Linked DNA regions of Homo sapiens: region 1 is linked to region 2. The links are contacts of gene promoters, found by promoter capture Hi-C in blood cells and fetal thymus (Javierre and others, 2016). All regions are on one chromosome and are shown on one strand. Each heading gives the region's core, a stretch centred on a gene start or on the middle of the fragment in contact. The rest is flanking DNA. Distances are from core to core; before and after follow the strand shown. Region 1 has its middle 42 kb from the start of FAM156A. Region 2 holds the start of HSD17B10 (hydroxysteroid 17-beta dehydrogenase 10).

The links. Contacts are between HindIII fragments. The CHiCAGO score rates a contact against its expected background, and 5 or more counts as called.
Region 1: a fragment that was not itself captured here is called in contact with the fragment with the promoter of HSD17B10 in region 2 in 3 of 17 cell types (fetal thymus, total B cells and naive CD4 T cells); the score reaches 8.1 in fetal thymus.

Annotation. Positions count from the first base shown.
Region 1 is chrX:52,997,939-53,003,981 of GRCh38, reverse strand. No RefSeq gene overlaps it. Among named protein-coding and RNA genes, the nearest start is that of FAM156A, 42 kb to the right of the region's middle. The HindIII fragment of the contact is 8,235 bases long and covers 195-6,043 here.
Region 2 is chrX:53,433,079-53,438,703 of GRCh38, reverse strand. HSD17B10 (hydroxysteroid 17-beta dehydrogenase 10) reads left to right here and starts at 4,334. Exons shown (of 6, transcript NM_004493.3): 1 at 4,334-4,385; 2 at 4,818-4,982. The coding sequence starts at 4,359. The HindIII fragment of the contact is 11,572 bases long and covers 3,039-5,625 here.

The DNA of each region.
Region 1 (6,043 bases), core at 3,063-5,562, 430 kb after region 2:
ATGTTGTGAGGATCGAATTTCTTTCAGGGGTCTTTGCTCAGCTTTGGCTACCTTTATGACCTTTATGACAGTGGCTACCACTGTCACTGATATTGCTATGGAATAAGGCACAGCCAGGCATATGGGCAGGAGCTCTGGGGCCAGACTAGACCTGGGCATAAGTACTAGCTTTTATCCTCTGGCCCTGGTAAGCTTAAGTCAGCTGATGAACAGTGCCTCAGTTTACTCATCTGTAAAACAGTGATTAATAATAATAACAACCACCCAGGGATGTTATCAGTATTAAAGGAGTTAACTGACCATTAAAATAGAGCATCTCTGGAAAAAATAATGACAAAAGCAGCCGGGTGCAGTGGCTCATGCCTGTAATCTCGGCATTTTGGGAGGCTGAGGCTGGCAAATCACTTGAAGTCAAGAGTTCAAGGCCAGCCTGGCCAACATGGTGAAACCCTGTCTCTACTAAAAATACAAAAATTAGCTGGGTGTGGTGGCAGACGCCTGTGGTTCCAACTACTCAGGGTGGGGGTGGGGGGTGCTGAAGCAGGAGAATCGCTTGAACCCAGGAGGCAGAGGTTGCAGTGAGCCGAGATCACGCCACTGCAGTCCAGCTTGAACAATAGAGGGAGACTCCGAAAGACAAAAACAATAGTACTGGCTAATGTTTATCTCACATTTATTCTGTGCCAGGTCTTGAGAGAACTCGTGTGTGTGTGTGTGTGTGTGTGTGTGTGTATATATTTTAACCAAGGACTCACTTCACAGCCAATATAACTCTTACTGGGATCACCTTATTTACTCTTCACTACAATCTATGGGGATTGACTCTGTTTCACAGTGGAGAAGACTGAGACACACAGAAGGCAAGGGAATGATCCCCAGTCACACAGCTAATAAGAGGAGGAGAAGCTGGGATCTGCACCAGCTCCAATTTCTCTGTTTGTATTCACTCCAGAGGCTGATTGGCAGGGAACATTTAGCATACTCATTGCGCTGATCTTCCTTACATTGAGATGAGCTGGGTTCTCTTATGCACATTGTCTAGCCCCTCGGGCATGTAACTTTGATAACCCTATTCCTGGACACCCTCCAGATACCCTCACACAAAACTCCTCTGTGGTGTAGGGATTGCTTTCATCACATGACTTTGCTTTATAGTTACTCAAATAATACTCGAATATGGGCCTGGTGTAAAAGACTCCATTAGGCTGGGCACAGTGGCTCATACCTGTAATCCCAGAACTTTGGGAGGCCAAGGTGGGAGGATCACTTGAGCTCAGGAGTTAAGACCAGCTTGGGCAACATAGTGAGACCCTGTCTCTACAAAAAACTAAAAAATGGCCAGGTGTGGTGGCACACGCCTGTAGCCCCAGCTACTTGGGAGGCTGTGGTGGGAGGATCCCTAGAGCCCAGGAGATTGAGGCTGCAGTGAGCTGTGATCACACCACTGCACTCAGCCTGGGTGACACAGTGAGAGCCTGTCTCAAAAAAAGAAGAATAAAAGACTCCATTAGTACATCAGTACACGGACTACATAGGCCATCCCCTTCCTCCACATTCTCTCCCTTCCCAGCTTACCACTGGGGTGAGGATCTGGGTGTTTGCTTGTTTTCTTCAAATACATTTCTCTGTGTTTAAACACACACACACACACACACACACACACCCCAGGTCCCACTATGAACTTTTCCACATTCCCCCATTAAGAGCGTGTCCTGAAGAAGATTCCTTTGACCAGTATAGTCTGGTCCCCTCATTCTGTTCCGTGGCCAGTGACTGCTCCCTGATATAATACAAGTCTCTCATTGTTCATTTACCATCCAGTGATCACTGACTATGAATGGACATTTAGAGGTTTTCCCTGATTGTTTGCTACTATCTTCCTTGTATACTAAGCTCTGTGCTATGTGTATGTTTCTTCATTATACATTCTTTTAAGTGGAATTGCTAGGGAAAAAGAGTTCAGCCATTCAACAACCATGCAGTGAGTGCCTGCTGTGTGGTGGGCACTGGAGAGACTGAGGAAACTGGATAGGAAAATGCCCCTGCCCTCATGGATGTAACATTCTAAGGGCTTACATATAAGGATTTTTCATTTTGATAGATGCTGCTCTGATGTTATTCATCAGTGGTGCAGGAGAAGAAAAGTTTGTTGACTGGCATAGTCACACCACTCATGGGGCAGGAGCTCTGTGGCAGTGGACTCGATGCTTAGACCTTTGCTCCCTTTAAGATCTTCAGGGTCTGGTGATAAGACTTTATCTGGGTGTGTTGTTGGGGAGAGAGGGAGAAAAAGATGGGGAAGGGCTGGTCTACTAGTAATACAGTGGAGGAAGGTGGGAATAAAAGTCTACTTAGCTGTGTGGAAGAGTGGCTGGGCACAGTTAGAAATGCAGTCTTGGCCGAGTGCAGTGGCTCATGCCTGTAATCCCAGCACTTTGGGAGGCTGAGGCGGGCGGATCACCTGAGGTCAGGAGTTCTAGACCAGCCTGGCCAACATGGTAAAACCCCGTCCCTACTAAAAATACTAAAAATACAAAAATTAGCCGGGTGTGGTGGTGTGCGCCTGTAGTCTCAGCTACTCCGGAGGCTGGGGCATGAGAATCACTTGACCTGGGAGGTGGAGGTTGCAGTGAGCCGAGTTCGGCCACTGCACTGCAGCCTGGGCAACAGAGCGAGACTCCATCTCAAAAGCAAAAACAGAAAGAAAGAAGAAGAAGAAAAAAAAGAAATGAAAGTCTTGGGCCCCTCCCCAGACCCACTGAATCAGAAACTCTGAAAGGTGAGGCCCAGCAATCTGTGTTTTAACAAGCTCTCTAGGTGATTCTTGATGCACACTAAAGTTTGAGAACCATTAGAGTAATCCACAGGACCTAAGTATGAAATAGCTGGCCCCTCTTGGATCTCACCTCCTGTGAGTGTGCAGCTGGGGATGAGGCGTGGAGGATGTAACATACCATTGCGGGTACCGGAAATGAACACACCATTATGCGAGATACCATAGGGGAAGGGAGCTTCTATTTTGTAAGAATACAAATGCTGTGTGTGGAGGGACAATAAAGCCCACCCCCGCCCACCAACGAAATCAGCCCCACCTTTCGACAGTAGGGCGGGCGCGGCGGCGAGCGCCCCAGGCGGCAATCCGTCCTCCTGGTTTCCACCCAGGCCCAAGCTGACACCCATTCTCCGACTTCTCGGAGACCCCTCTAGTCCCATTTTTGGCCACGCCCGTCTCCGTTCTACAGATCTGAATAAATTAGGAACCTGCAAAGGGGCAGTCGATCGGTTGTGGGACGATCAAGGCAGGAAGGCATCAAGGACCGCTCTGGGAAGCTCACCTAGAGAGTGCGGCTCTTACAGAGTACAGCGGGATGCACTCGTAGAGCCGGGTCCCTGGGTCTTCGCGCTCGCGCACGGTCAGGCACAGTGGCTGATGGGCGGAAGTTCGTAAAGCGGAGCCTGGGCTTTAAGGACTGGATGACCAGTGGGATCCAGTCTTCAAGACTTGGACTGTTGTTCAGTATGAGGCTAAAGATGCTTCCCAAGTCACAGGCAGGGCTTAAGTGAGACCACTCGCAAGGGGTCATCTGGCGCTCAGTGCGCAGGGCTCTAAGTTTTAGGTCATCACAGATCTGACTTGCAGTGTCCCAAGCACTTCTTTCTTATGTGCCATCTCATTTAATCCCCACTAGCACCTTTGGAAGAAAGCCCTGTCACCTCTGTCGCTGATGAGGACACTGGAGCGCCAAGAAGGCAGATCCCTGGCTGGGGCCCTCCAACCAGGGTGGGGCAGAGCTGGGGCCAGATGACAATTCCCGGAGGACCGCAGTTGGGACACTCCCAGCGCTCATGCTGCCCCTGTCCCTCCCAGGGTCCCTTCTCTGTCCTCACAGACCCAGCTGGGCAGTGTCCTCCCATCTCCTGAGGTGACACTCACCCCAGCGCCTCCTTCAGGAATCCCACCCCGCCCCCTCCAGCCCTAGGCGAATTGCCCTGGACTCTCAGTCTGGGTCTGGAGTTTCATCTGGATCTGGGAGACATTTCCAGTTCTGCCCTAACAGGGATGTTGTGACAGAAACCTGTGTGGGGGCAGGAGAGATATCTGTCCTGCAAAATGGTCTGCACTTTCAGGAAGTGCAGGGAGGGTCCTGAGGGGGTCCTCTGAGGTAGGCCTAGGTGCCGGGTGAGAGGACCGAAGTGGGCGTGAGAGGGTATAACTGAGGCCCCATGACTAGGGCTGGGGTAGGGAGGTAGAGGTCCGTGGTGGAAGGGGAGCCCTGGTGGCTCACAAGGGTGGGGAGCTGGGGAGAGAGAGGAGGTGTGGCAGCTGCCAATTGGAGAGGAAGTTTGGGAGAAAGGACCAGAATGCTCAGAAGGGCCATAATGGGGGTTGCCATTGGCAGTGTGAAGGGAGGACCTCTACTCTCTCTCCAAGATCCAGTTCCCCACAGTGGGTGCTGAGAGATGGCAAAGATAACGGGGTCTAGGGGTCTCCTACTGTGTTCTGGGATTTACCCTGAAGCCCCCATGGGGCAAGATACAAAAGTCACCAGGACCAAAGGTGATCAGGGTTGGTCAGACGATGGCCATTCCTGGGAGCCAGATATGAGAGCTTACTCTCTGATCCCCTCAGTCCCAGAGGGTCCTTCCCCATCCCTGGTGTGAACCTGCCTTCCTCATGACAACAACGGTGGTGACTGCAGACTGTGGGGAACTACAAGATCCAAGGCCTCCCCATAACAGTGTTGGATGGCACAGAGATTCAGCATCACACAGCAGCCCTGAGCTGATTCTTTGTGGGTATGTGTACCAGGGTGTAGCTGGTAAGCTCTTTGTGGGTTGGTGTGTGAGGTCCTTGAGTTATTGTGAGCTGTTACCTTGAGGTAGGAATTCTCTGAGCTGGTTGGGGGTCTGTGTCCTGAGGTGTGGCATCTTTGAGCTGTTTGGTGGTTGGTGTCTAGGGTGAGAGGTCTCTGAACTGCTTGTGGGCACTGTCCTAAGGCATGAGATCTTTGAACATTTTTGTGGGAGGTCTTTGTCCAGAAGGTTAGGTCTCCGAGCTGCTCATATATCAGGATATTTTTGTGAGGAAGGCAGGATGGTCCTTTCTCTCACAGGGGTAGAACAAGGTGCCCTGGTATCAGAGAGATGAAAACATAGGATCCTTATCCTTAGGGAGGGCAAGTCCTCAGTGTAGCATGTAGGAGCCAGTGGTACAAATACTAATGACAATGTCTGCAGACATTAACCCCATCCTTGCTCAGGGCCGACCCCTGTGACAAACCCATGTAACCCATGTTAACTCAATCTGCCAAATTGCCAATGAGGAGCTCACCATTTGCAGATGAGGAGGCTGAAGCCAAGTGAGGGTAGGGCCTGTGCTCACACAGTCCTCATGAAGAGGGAGGAACTGGCTGTAACTTGGACTCACTGGAGGAGACAGGGAAAGGCTCAGGCACAGCCGGGGTCAATGGGAGATGACAAGGAAAGGGGAAAGGAAGAGGTTTGCCCAGGGCCTCAAGGGCCCCATCACTGACTCACTGGTGGGAGGTCTGCCTCTCTGTCTCTCTGTCGCACACCCTGCTTGGTAATGGATGTTGAGAATGCAATCCTCACGTTACCTGTGGAAGTGGTGGCATGAGGTAAAGAGTGGGGAAATACCACAGATTCATCCATTGGCATGAGGTCCACCAGCAAATGTAGAGATTCCTACCTCTTCTTCCCCCTTGAAAGAATTTTTTTCAGGCCAGGCATGGTGGCTCACGCCTGTAATCCCAGCACTTTTGGGAGGCCGAGGCAGGCAGATGGCTTGAGCCCAGGAGTTCAAAACCAGCTTGGGCAACATGGCAAAACCCTGTCTTTACAAAACATATAAAAAAAAATCAGGCCGGGCATGGTGGCTCATGCCTGTAATCCCAGCACTTTGAGAGGCCAAGGCAGGTGGATCACTTGAGGCTAGGAGTTTGAGACCAGCCTGTCCAACCTGGCGAAACCCTGTCTCTACTAAAAATACAAAAATTAGCCGGGCATGGTGGTGCATGCCTGT
Region 2 (5,625 bases), core at 3,085-5,584:
GACAAAAGAACAATCAGGGGAGTACAAGAAACCAGGAGAGTCAGGCTTCCTGGAAGCCAAGTGGGAGTTTCTAGGAAGAGCAAGTGATGAATATGTCAAATGCAGCCAGAAAGGTCTGATTACACAAAGCCTGAAAAATTACAGTTGATTTAGGCAACGGTAAAGTCACCATAACCTGAGGCTGTCATCCTTCAGGTTCATTCAGACATCAGCCCCATTTATTCAAGTGGCAAACACTCAGCCAACATGCGTCCTCAGCATCCTCTCAAACGCTCGCCACAGTAATTTTCATGTCCCCTGCAGTCCTTCAGCGTTTAAACCAATCATTCAGATTGTGCCCCAGCTCACTCAGAAATGACAGGCTCTGTATAATCATCACTTGGGGTTCTTCTTTTCCCCTCACATAGATGATGATATAATTGGGATTCTTTATATTTGTCAATGTCACCTCAGAGCCAGCTGGAACCAGTGCAGCTCTGTCTTTGCAGAGGTAACTGCAGGTGCCCACAAGAGTTAAATGGGTTATCTTGTGGTTTTTATCTCCCAGGAGTGAAGACCACCCAGGAGTAAAGACCACCTTTATTCTTCTCTGTTTCCTGGCAGGGCTAATTTGACACAATGCTGCGTGTTGCTTGTTTTGGTGTCCTTGCTGGGCCCCTTTGCGCACCTCTGGCCCTCAGGTTCCCATGAGACATGCATCCAAACTGTTGAGTATGTGCGTGTAAAGGTTGACATCACTTTATTCCCTATTTTTTTGTGTGTGTGGAGACAGGGTCTTGCTATGTTGCCCAGGCTGGTCTCAAACTCCTGGGCTCAAGACATCCTGCTGCTTCAGCCTCCCAAAATGTTAGGATTACAGGCGTGAACCACTGCACTCAGCCCCTATTCCCTATTTTCTAATGGTTTTGAGACAGAGGTGCGTGCAATCAAGAGAGAGGATGCTCAGTAGCAGAAATCCCCAAGAAAGTGGGAGGGGCTGGGACACAAAACCCAGTGGAAGGGTGAGCCCTAAACAGGACATCTCTGAGACCCAAGGAAAGGATGGTGTGGGTGGGTAGAGACAATTTTGGAGGTGGCAAGAGAGAAGTATTCACTAATGGCTTCCGTTTGCTCTAAAAACAGTTCTTTTAATTGTGCAGCCCTCAGAACCAGAAGAAGTTCAGAGAGCTCCCTCTAAACACAGTTCTTAACCCACAATCCAAAAGACCCCTGAGGAGTCAGTGAATAGAATTCAAAGAGCCCATGGACTTGGATAGAGGGGAAATTGCATCATTATTTTCACTATTACTAACAGAAATATAGCATATCCTTCCAGGGGATGTGGGTAACAAACTGCAGTAATATTAGCACCTGTGACTTTGACACTAAGAGAGATCAGATTTTCATTATTACGGTTGTTGCATATCTCTCAAAATAACATCACTATTTCAAAAATCATGGTTGTCACTAGACCTGTTGATAGAGCTTGCTATTTAATGTGTTAATAAAGAAGCACATATATTACTACATTACAGGTGCGTTTCCTTTTATTTTGAAAATTGTACCCCAATATAATTGGTTTCTTTTGTAATCCTACTTATAGGACGCATGCATTATTCTGGGAAGGGGTTCCTAAGACTTCACCAGACTCCCATAGGTGTCCGTAGCATAGAAAAGGATGAGAAACACTGCTCTGAAGAGTAACCATAGCTAACACTTATATAGCTCTTGCTAAAGGCCAAGCACTGTTCCAAGTCCTTTTTAAATACATAGTTGTTAACTCATTTATTCCTAACAACCCTACGAATAGTCATTTGTTTATACTCATTTTACAGAAGAGGAAACTGAGGCACATCAGTTAAGTAACTTGTCCAGGGTCATTCGGCTAGTAAATAATAGAGCTGAGGCTGGGCGCGATGGCTCATGCCTGTAATCCCAACACTTTGGGAGGCTGAGGCAGGGCGGATCACCTGAGGTCAGGAGTTCAACACCAGACTGGCCAACATGGTAAAATCCCATCTCTACTAAAAATACAAAAATTAGCCAGGCGTGGTGGCCCATGCCTGTAATTTCAGCTACTCTGGAAGCTGAGGCAGGAGAATTGCTTGCACCCAGGAAGCGGAGGTTGCAGTGAGCCAAGATGCGCCACTGCACTCCAGCCTGGGCAGCGGGAGACTCCATCTCAAAAAAAAAAAAAAAAGCGGTAGAGGGGAAGAGATCCAAGACAACTCGAGAACATGGTCAGAGAGAGAAAAGATGGTGTGTAGATGCTGGGGAGGGCAGGAGGTTATTCCAGGGAATGACAAGTGCAATAAGGTGGCCTGGACAGGTGGTTAAAGTAGAGAGGAGGTGAAGGTTCCCGGAGTTGGGCAGGTGAAAGAATCATGAAACTGTGCCTGGAAATTCTTCCAAGATTAATTCATTAATTCATTTATTTCACACATTTGTTTTAAGTGTCTTGTACACGCCAAGCAGTGTTCTCGGCATTAGGTGAACCAGCTGGACAAGCCCCTGGTGCCATGGGGCTTACCTTCCAGCAGGGGGAGAACTACACAAACAAGGCCAGGTTAGCGGAGCATGCAGGCTCACAAGCCTGTAGGCACAATCCTGCAATGCCAAAACTTCTGAAAAGCATAAGGTTGTTTTTTCATACTTTGGAGCCCAAACTCAATAGATGACAAAACCTGACCTGAAGTAGTGTGAGGCTATTTATAGTCTTTATTCACACTTGGTGTGAATTTTCATACCTTTCACTTCAGAAATATTAATATTTCATTACGATGCTCCAGGCTTTTCTCAATAGTTATATAATATAGACTATACAAAAAGTTATGTTTGACTAGTTTTTTTAAAGAGTTATGTAATATAAATTACATGTCTTCCTTTCTCAAATTGAAAAAAACTCTGAATTCCACAGCACATCTGGCCCTAAGGTTGGAAAATGGATTACGGACATGCAAGTGCTATGAAGATAATTCAAATATGCAATGGGATAGTGTCTAGGTGGCTACAGTTTGAATATTTAGGGAGGACCCCTCTGGGAAGGTGATATTTAAGCTTAGTTCTGAATGAAAAAAAATAAAAGCAGTCATGCAAAGATCAGGGGAGAGCATTCCAAGCAGAGGGAGCAGCTAATGCAAAGATGAACACAAAGGAGGCCACTGTGGCTACAGCATATTGGGCCGGATGAAGAGTGCTATAAATTGATGGAAGCACTTCATGTAGATAGGAAAATTGTGAGACCGGTGTGCTAAATCCTTTGGTAAATACGGTGTAGTGATTATGAGTGTGGTGGCTGTCAACAACTAGAAGGCCTGGAGGGGAATCTTCCTGGGTGAGAAAGCAAGTGGGGGGAGATATTTCAGATAGAGAAAACATAAAGCAGTTCTGAGGCTGAAATGGTGGGCTAAGATTTATGGCCTGAAGACCTTGGTTTGAGGAAAAGTATAGAAGGAAGACAGATTAGATATCTGGGCTCAAGACTCTAATGACATAGCTTCTGGAAGCTGCCTGAAAGATGTTCTAGGATGACAAAGACCTGGGTCTTAAATAATAGTCTCTGGTTGAAGTCCAATCTGCAGTGTGTGATCTGGGCTTTTGGACTTAAATTAGACAAAGATAGAGGAGAGTAGCAAAGCCTGAACTGATGAAAGATGTTTTTGCCTCTTTAGGTTTGTGCTTCTCAGCAGCTGTCCTAGAATGTCTGTCTCCAAGCATCTCTCTTAGCGGCTTTCCACATTCATCTCTCTGTGATCCTACCTGGCATCTCTCTTCCTATCTCGGCCTCAACATATTTCTCTTTACATGGCTCTCTCTCTCTCTAACTCAGACTCCTCATCTTTGGATCTCCTTGTCTGAGTGTCCCAGAATCTGGTTCCGTCCATTCGTCTGTGTCTGTACTGTAATTCTCTTTCTCCACCTGGACTGTGCCCTCCTGGAAGGCATGAATCTTTTATTATTCCGCTGGGTATCCCAGGTGCCCCGCACACCGTCTAGCATATAGGAGTCTCAAATACATTCATACTTGAATTAAGACTTTTTCAGAGGAGAAAGGCATCCGTTCTCAATATCCACCCCTCTTCCCCCACGCGGAGCAGGCCACTTGCCAAAAGGCCAGCTAGAGAGTAGGGCGAGGGGTGTTGTGGTATTGTACTTCTGCTATTGGTCTCTTTCCCCAGTTGAAATAACTCTGGGGATACCTTAGCAGGCGGAATCCGCCCTCTGGCCAAAGGACTAGCGTACCAGGCCACGCCCCCACGTCTCATGCGGCAGCGGCAGACGCCCCGGCCCGTCGCATCCGCCCCTTCCGCCGCTTCGCCTCGGCCAATCAACGAGCGCCCGCGCCCCCATCCCCATCCCGTGGAGTGGCCGGCGACAAGATGGCAGCAGCGTGTCGGAGCGTGAAGGTAGAAGGTTCTTTGCCTCTGTTGCTTGCCTTCCTTTACGGGCCGGGACAGCGCGGCCGTGGAACTAGGAGAAAGAGATCGGTTTCGAGGGAAAGGGTCATGCTTATGTAGGCCTGGTATTGTGGCCGTTGGGCTCAAGAGGTGAAAGTCAGCACTCCGCGGCGCATCTGTCTGTCTGTCTGTCTGTCTATCTATCTATCTATCAATCATCTATCTATCTATCGTCACGGGACGGGCTGTCTGGGGATGAGATCCCTTCTGCCCCCGAGGTCCCAACGCTGAGGAGAAGCAGCACACCTAGTTTACCCGCAGGGGTGACCACGACCTCTCCCCTCCCCCCTTCTCCTCAGAAGCCTGGAGAACAGGCAGGCGACAGCGTGGGGATGGTCTGGGCAATGTAACAGCTGACCCTGACCATGTCCCTTTTGACAGGGCCTGGTGGCGGTAATAACCGGAGGAGCCTCGGGCCTGGGCCTGGCCACGGCGGAGCGACTTGTGGGGCAGGGAGCCTCTGCTGTGCTTCTGGACCTGCCCAACTCGGGTGGGGAGGCCCAAGCCAAGAAGTTAGGAAACAACTGCGTTTTCGCCCCAGCCGACGTAAGTGGGGTCACCTCTCCTCTCCCAGGGTGTGCATGAGGTCACCAACACCGGCCTGGGAACCTGTGGGGGTCCCTCCCATAAGGGTCTCCTCTATGGGGGCGGTAGACCCATCTCCTTGTCTCTTTTGGCCTGAGCCTTCAAGCACTGTGGGACCACCTGTGATAAGGATTCTCTAAAGCTGGGATTCACAACAATGAGGATGGGGATTGGACGTAACAATCTCCTGGAGGAGTTATGTATGGTTTGAAAATGCATTTTGTGCCTTGTAATTTTATATTTACAAAGTCAAAAAACTTGTTTTCATGAAACAAACTACAGAAAGTGAAACTTGATGAAATCATCTTAGCAGGTAAGGATACAAAAAAGCTAGTTTATCTTCCTATCAATAATTCTCACAAGAGGGTTATTTTTTATTTTTATTTTTGAGATGGAGTCTCGCTCTGTTGCCCAGGCTGGAGTGCAGTGGCACAATCTCAGCTCCTTGCAACCTCCATCTTCTGGGTTCAAGCGATTTTCCTGCCTCAACCTCCCAAGTAGCTGGGATTACAGGCACCTGCCACCACGCCCAGCTAATTTTTTTTTTTGTATTTTTAGAAGAGATGGGGTTTCACCATGTTGGCCGGGCTGGTCTTGAACTCCT